Regions from separate parts of the Homo sapiens genome. Here region 1 is linked to region 2. Evidence: promoter capture Hi-C in human tissues and cell types (Jung and others, 2019). All regions are on one chromosome and are shown on one strand. The core of a region is centred on a gene start or on the middle of the fragment in contact, and the rest is flanking DNA. Distances in the headings are between cores, read along the strand shown.

The links. Contacts are between HindIII fragments. The study calls those that stand out against the background at their distance.
Region 1: a contact is called between a fragment that was not itself captured here and the fragment with the promoter of SIX3 in region 2, in 1 of the 25 tissues and cell types used here (H1 embryonic stem cells).

Annotation. Positions count from the first base shown.
Region 1 is chr2:44,768,444-44,776,288 of GRCh38, forward strand. CAMKMT (calmodulin-lysine N-methyltransferase) reads left to right here. Exons shown (of 11, transcript NM_024766.5): 11 at 3,593-4,149. The coding sequence ends at 3,670. Among named protein-coding and RNA genes, the nearest start is that of LINC01833, 170 kb to the right of the region's middle. The HindIII fragment of the contact is 3,323 bases long and covers 4,193-7,515 here.
Region 2 is chr2:44,936,822-44,944,077 of GRCh38, forward strand. It overlaps SIX3 (SIX homeobox 3), which reads left to right and starts at 4,881. Exons shown (of 2, transcript NM_005413.4): 1 at 4,881-6,089. The coding sequence starts at 5,284. It overlaps SIX3-AS1 (SIX3 antisense RNA 1), which reads right to left and starts at 5,057. Exons shown (of 2, transcript NR_103786.1): 1 at 4,889-5,057; 2 at 3,333-4,012. It overlaps LINC01833 (long intergenic non-protein coding RNA 1833), which reads right to left and starts at 2,378. Exons shown (of 2, transcript NR_147195.1): 1 at 2,002-2,378. RefSeq lists enhancers at 60-593, 594-1,126, 2,545-3,046, 4,315-4,841, 5,924-6,648 and 1 more and silencers at 1,000-1,079, 2,074-2,203. The HindIII fragment of the contact is 28,963 bases long and covers 1-7,256 here.

The DNA.
Region 1 (7,845 bases), core at 4,604-7,103, 170 kb before region 2:
CTGTACCTGCCCCAGCAGCGGGGATACTGTGTGCTGACCGGGCTGGCACGTGCAGTTGTGCTCCTTTGCAGGAGAAGGAGCTCGCCCAGAGGCCGGAGCAGTGAGCCGGGGGCCACGCTGGAGGGAGCGGGCAGCGCCGCTGCTCCTCGCCCATCCCCATGCCCTGCAGCAGGGCGCGAAGGCGGAGGCCCAAGGCAGCACCCCTGCCCCTCCAGCCCTGCCCGCCCGCCCGGGGCTCCGGGACGCGGCCGCCGGGAGCCTCCACCCTGGCGGCTTTTGTTGGCCGCGTGCTAATAGCCAGGGCTTAAAAGTTTTCCATCTTGAGCGGCAATCAGCTTTCTTCCTCTCCATCTCTGGCCAAAGCCCCCTCGTCCCTGGGACGCGCTGCTCCCCAATGGAGGAGCGGCGTTTTCCTTCAGGCTGCGTGTTATCCTCTTAGCCCTACTGTGTTGGAATAGAGCGTAACCAGCTGGAGGACTGTAAGACGCCTGATAATGCCGCTCTTTTCCGCTGTCCCGTCTTAATCTTGTTACACAAATGGTCGTGAAGAGATTCATGAATTTTAATTTTGCCCTCTGCATTAGTGCCTCGCGTCACTCATACACAGCTGCCTTCGAAGCCGAGTTTTTCACCCCTCCTCTTACAACAGGGGAAAAAATTAGTTACTTGGCAGTAGTGCAAGGTAAAAAAAAAAAAAAAATCTACAGATTTAGGCAACCACCCATGAAGCTGATTAACAGTCAGTGATCAGGAGGAACAGCTTTGCCTCTTAAACTTTTCACCTCTCATTGTTAACTGTGAAATTTTATTTCCGTTAAAAAGCAAGCCTGTAATCAAAACGGTGCCATTCCGCACTTTTCTGCCAGTGCTTTTGTTAAACTGTGCCCACACCATGCAGCCAGTGTGCTCAGGAACCAGGCAGCCAAAGGTGTAGCATGTTTTAAAAATATTGCTTTTCAGTCCATCCTTGCAAGGGGAGAAAAATAAAACACTTCCCTCTCCTCCCCAGCCTTTTGGTCTCCTCAAGGCTGAGAATCAAATTCATTGCCCTCATAGTGTGGTTCAAAACCTTTCGGATAGTAAGATAGCAAATCGTTTTGTAAGGTAGAGATGTGACTTCGAGATTACAGCTGGCTTGATGCTAGTTGGTAAAAATACTCTCATTCATGCAAATGTTCTTTGAAATATAATTTTACATGCCGTGGGTTTTTTTTTTATAAACTTTCGCAAAACCACCCTGAAGTGTTTATTTTTCTGTATTTTTGTACATAGCTCTGAAAATAGGCTTGGGCTGGGCTGTGAAGTCAGTACATTGTGTTAAAAACACGGCCATATTGCACTTCTGCTTATCTATTCAAAATGCCACATTACAAGTGGCTGGTGCTTATAATCTGTGTGGTGTGCTGTTGATAATTGTGGATACTGTAAAGGGTAAACAGTCTGAACTCCACTCCTGCTGCTGCTGTTCACGCCGTAGTAAGGCTGAGCGTGTTACATCCAATTATGAAGTAAAGCATAATGCTACTAATAGCAGCTATATAATTTAGTTTAGTCCTCAAAGACCCTGTTTTAACCTCTGAAATTGGAAAATTATTTTATTCATGATTTGCTTTTTCTTCATTTTCTTTCAAGGTGCCTTTTGATATTTGTCAAAATTGTAATTATTAATTGGGCAAGGAAGTACAGCCTGGGTAAATGGAATTATTCTTAAAACTCATAACATTCCCCCATCGAAGCAAGTATTGGCTAAGAGCTTTGTGTGTGTTCAAGTACCCTCACATAACAGACTTGCTTGATTCAGAAATGATCCAGGGCTGGGTTATAGTGTTGCCTTTGAGGGTTGTCAGCTCTTCCCCATTGTGGAAAGGTCTCACAGGCAAGACGGGGCTGGCCCCTGGCCCCTTTCAGCAACGAAGCCTCCACTTTGGCCTCCAGAGGTCAGCATAGAATCCAAGTTAAAAGTGATTTCTAACCCATATTTACAGAAGAATTATTTATCCCACATATTACCTCAGGGACTTTATAAAGAGCTCATTTGAGTCTCTGTATATTAGTGCATTGTGAGTGAGTAGGTCAGCTGACTGCCACTGAGTAATCAACTTTCCCTTATCCCCAATCCCCAAGGAAAGAATTGAGCTAGCTTGGTCCTCTCTTCCCTCTGTAAAATACTTCAGTGAGCTCCCTCTATCACTAGGGCAACTGGCAACAAAAGTATTTACAGTGGTAAGTCCCGGTCAGTGGGTATGGACTGGGAAGTTGGTGAAGCCATTTTCTCAGCATTTTCTAAAATTAGACTAAATAGTAAGGTTGGAGGACCTGTGTTTAGGCTTAACACTCTCGCTACTTTGGTAGCAGCAAAAATCCACAAGGATCTTCCTAAATAGACAACAAATCATCTGTACACAGAACAAACTCTGTCTAAGAAAACAGAATGAAGTCACCTCAGTGACTGTACCACCATCAGTTCTTGGGAAAGTAGATTGGAAAGTGGATTAGAAATTAAAGGCTGAATTAGCTTTATGTTCCCCAGCGGAAAAGGGGAAGTGGGCTCATGACTCCTGTCCTTAATAGTGACAGCATGTCCATGTCATGGTTTGGGAATATGATTTAGAAGGAACATGCACTTCGAAAAGATTCAAGTTAACATGCCCCAGAGGGACCAACCTGGGAGAGTGTGATGTTGAGGCCATTCATTTTGCTTTAGGGTGGGTGGAGTGGGTGGTGTTTGACTAATTTAAACAATAAAGGAATTGACTCCCTGTATAATTTAAAGAAATATTTATTTTTTTATTCTTATAATCTAAAAAGAAATTAACAATTGGCTCATAAATTCCAACTTCAAAAATATTAATTTTGTCTTTATAAATAGCAAATTTTTATTTGCTAGAATAAATATAAATATAACTTTAAAACTATTCCAGCTGAATGAAGAAAAAGTGTACTTCATATGTGAGAAACCTAACTGGATTTTAAAATCTTATCACAGAAATATCCTCAGAACTTCCCTGCACAGTATGAACAGGAATGTTGCTAGTCTAATTGTTGGAGTATGTTCTCCTCCTCAGAGAAAAGAATTTTTGAGTGACTTATTATTAATGTTAAAACCCCTAAGAAGCACCTGGAGAGCCTTTGCAGTGTCTTGGGCCCCACAAGCCTTTCCCTGTGCCCAGATGTTGCCACGGACTCCAAGCAGTGATCTGAAATGCCCGCCTGCCTGAATAGTGTGGCATTGGTCAGAGGCAGAGGGTACAGAGAGCAGAAACTTCTATGTCAAATGCCCAGTCAGGTGATGATGAATGAGCCCCAGCTCTGCCTTCTGTCAAGTGCCTCACAGTTTATAGAGGTCAAAGTGCAGTTTGGGTATTTATGAAAAAAACCCTACCCACCCCCACCAAAAACAATCCCCATGTTAATGTATAGAATTGTCACATTAGTGCCACTGAGAACTACTTTGAGTTGCTTTTCTGTGATTTATTTTTCCAGAACTATATATTTTGGTGTAAAAGTCATCATGATACTCAACATTAATATTGACTGGTAAAGATCCCTAATTGGAGTCCCCTTACCTTTTTCTTTCTATTATTGTTTTCAGTTGAAAAAGGAAAACCCGGACATATATGAAGAAAACCTTCATTACCCGCTTCTGCTTATTTTGACCAAACATGGATAGAAGATTAAGCTTCTCAAAGACGAAGAAACGTATCAAGTGCATAGGGAATATTTTTACAAAAACGGAAATCTGTAAGGGGTATAATCGCCTGCCTGCGCCCTTTGCAGCATTTCACGTGTGGGCTATGGACTCCACCTGTCCTCACCCACGTTATTCCCCAGCTGCCCTCTCCAGCTCCCTCCCCGCCTCTTTTTACACTCTGCTTGTTGCTCGTCCTGCCCTAAACCTTTGTTTGTCTTTAAATGTGTATAAGCTGCCTGTCTGTGACTTGAATTTGACTGGTGAACAAACTAAATATTTTTCCCTGTAATTGAGACAGAATTTCTTTTGATGATACCCATCCCTCCTTCATTTTTTTTTTTTTTTTGGTCTTTGTTCTGTTTTGGTGGTGGTAGTTTTTAATCAGTAAACCCAGCAAATATCATGATTCTTTCCTGGTTAGAAAAATAAATAAAGTGTATCTTTTTATCTCCCTCCAATTAATTGTATTAAATCCGCCATCCCTTTCTCTGTCCCTCTCTCTCCTTCTTTTTTTCCTTTTAAACAGTATGTTTTTTTTCCTATAGATGTATAAGAAATGACTACATCAGCCCAAAGCCTCATAAACTGACCGTTTGTCCTCTGGACACAATAGCGTGGCCAGCCCTCTGCTCCTCCTCCCCAATTATGTGTGATTAGTCTCAGTGTGCTGTGTCAAGGAGGGGGAGTGTGCTGAGTGCTTATTATCTGTTTAGGTACAAGAAGAGCACATTTAGGCTCTGACTATGAATGAAAAGTGAGCCTTTATCAGGGCTTAAATCTAACTGCTGCTGTTCTCCAGGCCTCTTTCAAAATAGGTCCTTCCCAGAGAAATTTTGAGTAAATGGTTGATAAACCAGATTGCAACCAGGGGGAGTTTTTTAAAAACTCAATCACACAATTATCTTATTTAAAATAAGTATATATTGTTATATGCTGTGATTCAAGTGTATGGTAAACATTTAATAGGTGCTACCTAGGATTAAGAGAGAATGACTTTTCTGCAGGGAACCCAAGCTTATCCTTGCCTAGTGCATCCATGAGATGCTCTAATGCCTTTTGTGGAAATTCAGATGTTTATCTGTAAGGAATCATCTGTGCCCACTTTAGCAGTAATGTCATTAGTAGGTTAGCTATATATCCTCATGTCTTTAGTACAGGCAAAAACATGTATTCAGTGTGATACAATTAAAGTGATAGGTGAGAGACTGGGGGTGCATCCTTTTGCATGTTAAACAAACTTAGCTGTCATAAAAGCAGCGACTCTCAAATGTCTTCTCTGCTCACTTCTATCATCAAACAAATTTTTCACCATCAGTTTGCATGTCCTTGTATTCACCACTTTTTCTGCTCCATTAGAGCACCTAGATGGATCTCAGAAGGCATAGGTCAAGTCGCAGTTAGATCATACATTTCTTTCTCACAAAAACTTGAATTGCAATGCCAAGTGATGGGCTAACATCACAATAACAGCAATTTATTCCTCTTTGGATAAAACAGCAGTCTATTCTCAGTGCTAGATAAAGACCAGGGCAATGCAAACCAGCCATTTAGCTGAGTAGTTCAGCTAGTGGCAGCTCTCCTTTGGTGACTGTATAGGTTGCACACTGGCTTCATATTTTCTTGTTTAAAAATTAGAATTTGGCATGTTTTAAAAGGCAACACAAGCCATTCCATTTATACTGGTGAAAATACAGCAAAATTATTTCCTGTGTAAAACCTGCAACTAACTCTGCCAGACAAAGAAAACGCATCCCTGTAGTAGCACCTAAGATGGTCTATTCTTTTTTCTTTTTAAATATGGAACAGCAGGACTATGAGAATATTTTCTTTTTTCTCTCAAGAAAATACGTGAATTGGCAAGAATTCAATTTGTATTTGTGTGTTGTGGGTGGAGAAATCCAGTGTTTATGTCTCTGGGAGATACTATATTTTAAAAAGTAAACTAGGAATGTATTTTTTTAAATATCTGAGAACAGTGTTTCAGAATTGAACTGTTGCTACCAAGAGATACGTAGTAAGGAAATTCACTTATTATGTAATTAAAACCTAGAGAATCTCCTATACAATGTTAAGGGTTTCCTAGATCTGCTCTTCATGGGATCCTCACCTGGAAATCTCTGTAGTCCAGGTTCTTTGAAAGTTTGTAAGAAATGTTCTATATTATTGAATAATTTTAGTTTTTATTTTCCCGAAGTTTAATGGAATGCCGATACTGAAAAGTGAAATAGAGCAGCTTTGAAAGTTTGTCCATTTACATTTCTTTTGAACTTTATGATTATTTCTATGAGTCAATTGCAATTGAAATGGCCCATTCCATAATTGCCTATGTAATTATGCATGTGTTTGTTTCAGAAAGGAAGCCTGTCTGCTTAGGAAATCCTAAGAATAATATTTCTTTTCTTTGTGTACCTTTATCTTCTGATAAAACTCATGATTTTCCTTTGTCATACTAAGTAGATTTGGTTGGATGAAAGAATGTTTCTAATATTGCCCGTGGTCAGTTCTAATGCTGTGAGATGAATAGCTACATACAAGTTGGTTATAAGAAATATATTTTACTTTATAGCAAGACATATGCCATGAATTGGGATAAAAGTGCTAGAAAAGACTACCTAAGAGGTTGATGCTATTTTGTATAAATTGTGTATTTTGTTGGCTTTTTGACTGAGCATGAAAATGTAACTTCCATTAGGGAAGGGTAATTTAGGTGCTCAGTATTCAGCAGAAAACTTGTCAGGGCCATAAAAGCTTTTCTGGCTAGTTCCTCGGGTGTTTTCAGAGAAGAGCTGCCCGCCCCTTGCTGATTTTCCCTTTGGCTTCAGTATGGGCTGAATTTACCACTGCATACCTGTTGAATCAATTTGGGGGATCCAGCAGTTAACTGAGTGAATGGAAGGATTAGTTGCCCTCTGGAGCCCTATTTCAACAGCCAGGTGTCTGTCCTAAACTAGTTAACTGCTTTTGACAGCTGAAGAACCTGGTTTTAATACCAGAGGCAGGAGGTAGTGGTGTTTTTTTCCATCTCTCTGCTACCAAAGTGGGGCAACCTGCTCATGAGGGTTAGGTGGTTTTTGTTTTTTAATAGGAACCTAGCTTCCATGGATTTTCTTTGTGCTTAGTCAGCATTTGACTTGTTTCCAATCTATGCCAGACAATTCATTAGCATTGTCTGGCAAGAACCTCTCACTGGACTCTGGGGGTGGGGCAGAATGCCCACATAGGGGAGAGAGTCAAAGTATATGTACAAGCATATACACACACACACTCACAGGAAAGATTAAGCTATTTAGACCCGAGATCTGGGCTCCAGCCGCCAGATTCCAGGTACATCCCCACCCTAGATCAAAATCCCCTGAGTTCAGGCTGTATGAAACATCATAATTATGTTGATTGTATACCATAAAGAAAAAATGGATTTGAAAGTCAGGCTGATTTTAGGCAGGGTAAATATGTTTTCCTGAGTGGACTACTTCCAAATTAGGAAGGATCCTGTTAGTGTTTATCAAACCATTAAGCCTGAAATGCCACTTTTAATTCTCACATTTCATTTTACCCAGAGAGCTTACCTTCCAGGCTGTGGCTAAATGCTCACAGTGTTCTCTGCCCTGGAAGTCTGTGCATTTGGAGTCTGTATTTTGCTTTTTTTGTCCCCCTGACTTTTCAATTAATACATTTTTTAACAGATAAAACAGATCATACCGTGACTTTTAAAATGTCAACAAGCTTGTAAACAGAAATGTAATAAAATGGCTAATAGGAGATTCAATAGTTAATAGAGGGCCTGAAGTGTGAGCAAATACAGTAGCTGTATATTGGAAACTGTGCAAGTGAAGATGGCTTTAGTATTGCAAACTGAGGAAGAAAATTGTTTTTAATTAGCACCTTCATAAGAACTGCTGATTAATACTGTTTTGTTTGGTGAAAAGCTTTCAGCTGAGTAATTTGTACAGCCATTACAACAGTTTTGTTAGAGCGGGACTCCTGTTGTTAAACACAAACAGCAGATGATAATGGTGGAAGATGAGTTTGTCATGTAACAATTTACCTTATTGAAAAAAGCTTTATATAAAACCCAATACAGTAGGTACCAGCAGAAATCACATATTTTAAATCCTTCCAAAATTGCAGTGTGCCATGCTTATGGTTTGTTTTTT
Region 2 (7,256 bases), core at 3,631-6,130:
TCTGTTGAGGGGGAGTGCAGGACGGGCTGTGGTCCCCTGCCTTCCCTACTGCCACTTGTCATAACATGTGACTGGGCTCTGTGAATGGTGGAGGCAATGATGGGTTAGGGAGGGGAGCTGCCCACCCTTTCTCAAATCCAAGTCCTGGCACACCAGGTCTGGCTGTTCAGAAGGGGAACCTTGGGAAGAAGTGTGTGGCCTCTGGGCAGTGGAAGCCAAGGGAACCTAAGGTGATAGGAGGATGGAAGGCTGACCCTCAGCCACCCCAGCATTAGTCCAGATGCACCTTTAAGGAACTGGAGTGACTAATTGATTTGCAATTGGTCCACTTGGGAGAGGCTGGCAGTGCACTCCCTGGGCTGGATCCTGAGACAGCAAAAGCCTCTCCTGCCACCCGCTCCCCTCCCTGCACTGCCCCCAACCAGTATGGCTCACACCTCCCAACTCTCCAGCCCCTCTCTCTTGGGAATGGGTAACTGCAGGCAGCTAGGCTGGGTTTGTGCCCACCCTCCTGGGCCTGGCAGTGGGAGGTGCCGTGGTTCAAGACAGAGCCAAACTTCCCCTGTTTCAGAATGTGGGGGGTGGAGGGTCCTTTAGAGGGCGGCGGGGCTCATTAGGCAGAGCAGGGTGCCGAGAGGTGCGCGTCGCCGGCCCCTGAGGCCGCCTTTGAGCCGTCGGGGCGGCTTCATTAAGCTGCGCTAACAAGGCGTACAAATGCCGAGCCCAGCAGCTTTCTTGCAATGCCCGGCCTTAGCAGGGCGCCGGACTAATGAGGGTCACTCAAAGGGGCTGATCAAATATTCAAATTTCCCCGCACGCCAGGAACTTTTATGCATGGAGAAAGTTGAGGCAACTGAGCTGTGTTTACTGTCCGGGGCGACAATTGCTTGGAGCGCCAGTCCCCGGAGGCTAAGGCGGGGGGCGGGGGTGCGGGGAGGGAGCAGTTGTTGTTGTTGTTTTTCAAAGGAAAGTAATCGGGGTCCTTGAAGGGCTTCGCGGCCTCCCCGCCTGCGTGCTGCGCTCCCCTGCGCCCTCCCTGGCCGCCCGCGCCAAGCGCCTCAGTTTGCAGCTTGCGGGGAGGCCCAGACTACGGGCCACCCGGCCAGCCTCCGCCTCCCGACATCCTGGGAGCCGGAAGGGGCGTTGCCCCCACAGGGCAAACCTTCCCCCGGCCTCCTGGTCGGCTGTTTAGAGCTGAGCAAGGCCAAGTGGGTGCAGCTGCCCCAACCCTCCGGATCCTCGTCTCCCGGAGGCCTGCAGACCCGTTGGCTTTCCCTGTAACCCAAAACAAGGAGAGAGTGGGAGGTCTCTCGGGCGTTCTCCAGATGTGGTTGAGACTTTCCCAGTGCTGGGGTGGCGGGTGACATTTGTAAATAAATGCCAGTTGGTCCGGGTACAAGGAGAACACTATTTAAACCCCAAAGACATCTTTTCTCCCTGCCCCACCTGAAGGCGATATTTTAGATCGCCGGGGCCAGGATTGAAGCGGGGATGATGGCAGCAAATTTGTTCTGCACAGGTGACCCGGCCTGTACGGGCGCCAAGTCCCAGATCCCGCAATCAGAGCGGCCAGAGAGCAGAGAAGAGACCTAGAGGATCTGCAAGCTGACCTATCCACCCGAGACTCTCCGCTCTGAGCGACCCCAGGGTGCAGGCGCCCTCCACGCGCCACCTCCTCTAGCGGTCCCCCAGGGTCCCTTCCCAGTCCTCGCACTGCCCTAGGGCTTGCTTGGTTCCCAGACCAGCGTGGAAGGCCGCTGGGCCCCGGAACCCAAGGTCCCTCTGCTTCTGCTCCACTCCCCAGTGCCCAGCGCCTGGGAATTTGGGAGGGGAAGCTCTGGCGCTCCACAGCCCTGCTTCCCACCCAAACACGCACTCAGAACCCCTCGACTGAGATCCTATGGAGCCTGCGCCCCCAGCCCGGCGGGGAGCCAGTCCGGCCCTCCGCTCTGGGACCAGCCGCCCCGCCTCCCTGCCCTGCTCTCCGGACTCTCAACTTACCCGCTCCAGGAGGCGGGAGTACTGCTTCAGGCCAGAGCCGAAAGGCGCTGGCGGCGGCTGGACCGCGAGGTGGGCTCGGTGGGCGGCGCCGAGCTCGGCTCTGCTGGGAGGCGCGGACAGCCCGGGGCTGCCACCTGCCCCACCGGGTCCTGGCGCACAAAGCTACACGCCTCTCTGCAGCCCTCTGCCCTGCTTCGCGTTCCGGAACCGCGGTCGCCACCCAAGCAGGCGGGGTGCGGCAGGGCGGCAGGGCGGCAGGCGCTGGGGCAGAGGCTGGGGGGCGGGGGTGTCGCCAGAGTCTCAGCCCCACTTGCCTCAGTTCTCCCTGAGTGGCGATGGTTTTTTATTTCAGCGCTTTCGGCAGAGCCCGCAGCACCTGCCCAGCCTCCCTCCGGGGCTGGCCGGGCAGTGGCAGGGAGAGGCCAGGTCGCCACCACCCGGAGGCGGGGGTTTCGGGGACGGGGAGGGGACTGACCGGGTTCACCCGCCCGCCCGGCGCCTGGGTCCCCGGCTCCGGGGGATGCAGTTTCGGGGTCACGAGCTGCTTTCAAAAAGTTGAACACAATATTCGGAAACCCACCCGTAGGAATTCTCCCCCCACACGCGGCACAATACCCACTCCCCTCCCCTTTTTCATTCCTTCCTCCCCCGCTTCCTCCTCCTGCCCCTTCCCCCTCCCACCCTTCAGCCTATAATCCTTCCCCTACGAGAGAAAGGGATCGGGAAGAAAACATGAAGTGTCTGTTTTTGTGTCCCAACCTTTGGGCTCTTTCTGGGCCCTCAGTGAATGACCGCCCAGAGCTTTCAGCTGCGTGGAGAAGGACTCATGGCCAGGAGGAGAGGAAATATATATGGAGTGGAGAGAGCACTGAAATGGGGCTTGGCAGGTCTTCCCTTTGGAGGAATATTTTTCTGCCCCAGTCGTCGTGTTGAAGACCTGCTACCCCACGGCTGTCTCTGGCTAAGTGAGCCAGTATTGGCCCCTCGCCGGACCCAGGGCCTCCCTGCCGCCCGGAATCCTCCAAGGAGGCTTGCACTTGTCGGCTTGCTCTTCTCCCCGGCCCTCAGAGGCCTGGCACTGCGGGAGTCAAGGCCTAAGCAGGGCTCCAGCTCGGGGTTTAGGGGCTGGGACACTCACAGCCCCAGTCACGTTAGGTTTCCCATTTAAATTCTCTCTCAACCTCTCTTTCTCTCTTCCCTCATTGAGATCACCAAAGTGGTGTGGACACGGCGCCTTGCCCCCAGATCTGCATCGGAATGCAGAAAAGATCTTTAAAAAAAAAAAAAAAAAGTTTTGAATTCCTCAATGATTTTTCTTCTGGAAAGGCAGCTTAGGATAATTATTTCAGCTTTATTGAGGGCAGATTAGTTGAAGTCTGGGCGCTGCGTTTCAATACGCGTTGTACACGGGCCGACAATGTGGTCATTGTTGGCTACTGTGTGTGAATCCATTCAACATATACACTTTTTAACACCAAACCGAGTCCTGTCTAAATATACACAGTGCTCAGGGAAAGACGTCTCTGACCCCGACAAATCTGCGTAAATCACACTTCCATAGTTACAGAAGCCTCACAAAGGGAGGCCCGGCTCAAGATGCTGATTACAGCTTCTTAAAAGCAACATACCTAAGAATAAATACCCATGCCTGGCCTAGGGGCTGTGGTGGCCAGAGGCAGAGAGGGCCCTCTGTGTTCTATGGGCCTTTTGGCGTCTGTTTTAGGCTTTCGATGTTACTTTCCCTAGAGAAATTAGACAGTTTAAAAATAATAATGGTAATTATTATTATTTTACAATACGAGCAAACAAGCAATTTTCAGGCCTTATTCACTTCATCCGGGTGGCTGGCCTCCAAAGTTTGAGTGCCCTCTGGGGCTGGCAGGCAGGACCAGAGCTCCTTCTGTTGTGTGGTGAGGAGTGGGCATCTGTAGGACTTTTCTGGGTCCAGAGGGCTCTTGGGCTTCTCGGCTCCCGCAGCTCCTCCACCACTCCTCAGAGAGGCAGCTGAATTCTGGGAAGAAACAAAGAGTTGAGTTGCTTCTTAAGATGGAAAGAAGTGTACTGTTTGGACTGTTATTTTAAAATACAGGGTGGTGGGGGAAATCGAGGCTCCTTGGCCGGGGAGGGAGTAAAGAGAAGCCTAATTGATGAAGAGGGAGTTGAGGTGAATGCGGTCCATGGGCACCGATGGGGGAGGCAAGAGCGGCCTCCAGCACCCTGGGAATTGGGCTCAGGCTCCCTGGCGCCAGATACCCTCGGAATCCGGGATCCCCGGCTGGCGCCACGGCCCGCTGGGCCAAGGTCGGTGCTTGGTGGGCCCCATGATCTCATCTCTCCTTTCTTCCTTGCCACTATTAGTGCTCACATAGGCAGAAAGAGGCGGCCCGACGTGCAAACCATGTGCAAACCGCGCCCGCTGGGCTGGTCAGCCGTCTTTCCTTGCCTGCCGACCTGGACTATGTGGAGCCTGGGGGACCCTCTTGCCTCCCAACAAAATCCCCTCTCTAATTGCACATCCCATTCAACAACTCTGCCCAGGGCTTTTCGAATTTCTGGATCAACTTCTTTAGGAAAAAGGGAAGAAGAAGTCTCAGAGACAGCGGTAGAGAAAAGAGGAGAGAGAGGGAGAAGAGAGAAGAGAGGAGGGGGAGGTAGCGAGATTAAGAGTTGCAAAGATAAAAAAAATTCTCTTTATCCCCCCACTTCTCCCTCCTTCCCTGCTCTCCCCCTCCCCCCGCCCTCTGGCTAAGTGGTAAAACCGTCCTTACGTTCTCGGTATTGATTGGCAGGGCTGACAGTGATTGGCAGTGGTTGCCGTGGCAACGCCACAACGACACGCCACAGACCAATAGAAAAGCGAAACAAAATGTTTCAATGCTGCACTCACTGTGGATTTAGGGGAGATATTATGAGGCTGTTGTCATTAGGGCGATTGCGGTGGAATCGCTGAATCTTGACTCGGCGGTGGTTGGCTCTCCCTCTCCTCTCTCCCTCTCCCTCTCCCTCTCTGTCTCGGGTTCTCTCTCTGCGCGCGCGCACCGGGCCGCTCTCCTACCTCCCTCTCTATGTGGCTGCGCGGGTGTGTGTGTGTGTGGATGTGTGTGGGGTGTGGGTGTCCCTTACGCCCTTCCTCCTCTCCCTCCTCCTCCTGCTCCCCCCTCCTTTCCTTCTCCTCCTCCCCCCTCTCCTCTCCCTCCTCCTGGTCCTCATCGCCCCTCTCCTCCTCTTCCTCCCCTCTCTCTTCCTCTCCCTGAATTTTCTCCTCTCCTCTCAGGTCAGTCCATGGTATTCCGCTCCCCCCTAGACCTCTATTCCTCCCACTTCTTGTTGCCAAACTTCGCCGATTCTCACCACCGCTCCATACTTCTGGCGAGTAGCGGCGGCGGGAACGGTGCGGGAGGCGGCGGCGGCGCGGGAGGCGGCAGCGGCGGCGGGAACGGTGCGGGAGGCGGCGGTGCTGGCGGAGCAGGCGGCGGCGGCGGCGGCGGCTCCAGGGCCCCCCCGGAAGAGTTGTCCATGTTCCAGCTGCCCACCCTCAACTTCTCGCCGGAGCAGGTGGCCAGCGTCTGTGAGACGCTGGAGGAGACGGGCGACATCGAGCGGCTGGGCCGCTTCCTCTGGTCGCTGCCCGTGGCCCCCGGGGCGTGCGAGGCCATCAACAAACACGAGTCGATCCTGCGCGCGCGCGCCGTGGTCGCCTTCCACACGGGCAACTTCCGCGACCTCTACCACATCCTTGAGAACCACAAGTTCACCAAGGAGTCTCACGGCAAGCTGCAGGCCATGTGGCTCGAGGCGCACTACCAGGAGGCCGAGAAGCTGCGCGGCCGCCCACTCGGCCCGGTGGACAAGTACCGCGTGCGCAAGAAGTTCCCGCTGCCACGCACCATCTGGGACGGCGAGCAGAAGACGCATTGCTTCAAGGAGCGGACTCGGAGCCTGTTGCGGGAGTGGTACCTACAGGACCCCTACCCCAACCCCAGCAAGAAACGCGAACTGGCGCAGGCCACCGGCCTCACTCCCACACAAGTAGGCAACTGGTTTAAGAACCGGCGGCAGCGCGACCGCGCCGCGGCGGCCAAGAACAGGTTAGTGGCGGGGCCCGCGGCCTGGCTACAGCCTCAGAGGCCTGGGAAGGGGAGAGGGGTTGAGATGGGGCTAGCGGAGCGGCCGCTGAGAGCCAGGGAAGCCGTGACTCCTGGCCAGTCGGAGAAAGTTTCCGCTTGTCCGGGACGCGCGGAAGAGGGGGCCGGGCTGGCTGTGGGTGTATTGATTGCTTTGACCAAGAGGGGCTTTCGTCAGGGCAGAGAGTGTGTGCTTGCGACCCGAGTACCCGCAGCCCCTGGGAGACTTAGCCCTGCGCTGCACCCGTGCCTGCCTCCTCAGCCCTGCCGCCAGCTCGGCGATCCTCTGGAGCCTAGAGACAGGGAGGGAAGGAAAGCACTCTTTGCCATCTGGTTCTTATTTCTGTGCGTTGCAAAACCCCGAGAGAAATCCACTAGCGTCAGAGAGAGGAAAGTGAACCTGGGTCCCTATCACAAGGGGAAAAGGCCAGAGGCCACTGCGCAGCGGGCCTGTTTCCCCGCAACGCTGCACGTTGCCTGACCGGGAGCAGGAGAGCCGGGCTGGGAGTGGAGAGGCCTAGCGTGTGCGTGTGCGTGTGTGTGTGCACGCCCGTGTGCATGTACTCGCCCTCCTGTTTCAGCCGAGGAGAATCCCTTTGGTCCTCTAAGCTGGGAAGCGGGCACGAGCAGCCTCGTTGCCGGCAAGTTGGCCACAAAGTCACAAAATTGTATAGGGCTTGACCAACATCACAGGAGCTGGGCCTGGGGGAAGGAGAAAAAGAACCAGAGGGAAAGAAGTGGATAGGCGAAAGGAGTGGGGAGAGAAGGGAGAAAGAAAAGAGGAAGTTGGGTGAAAGCCCTGATGTGGAGCCTGTGTCTTTCTCTATCCAGCCAGGAAGGCCCAGGGCCTGGTGTACTTCAGGGAGCAGGACCCCCAGCTGCTGACAGCTGCCCGTGGGTGGGGGCTGGGTGTGAGTTTCTGGAGGTGTGTTCGAGTTTAGGCGGCCGGGACCTGAGCCCATGGCCCTCTCACCCCTGCCGTGGAGCCCACTTTTCGTCTGATGAGGGGAGCGCCCAGGGTCAAGCCAAGGCCTCCTTGTGGAGAGAATTCCAGACACCAGGTCCAGGCAGAAGGTTCCCGGTGGGGGAAAGGGCAGCTGGAGACTGCTCTGTGCGCCTCTCTTGCCTTCT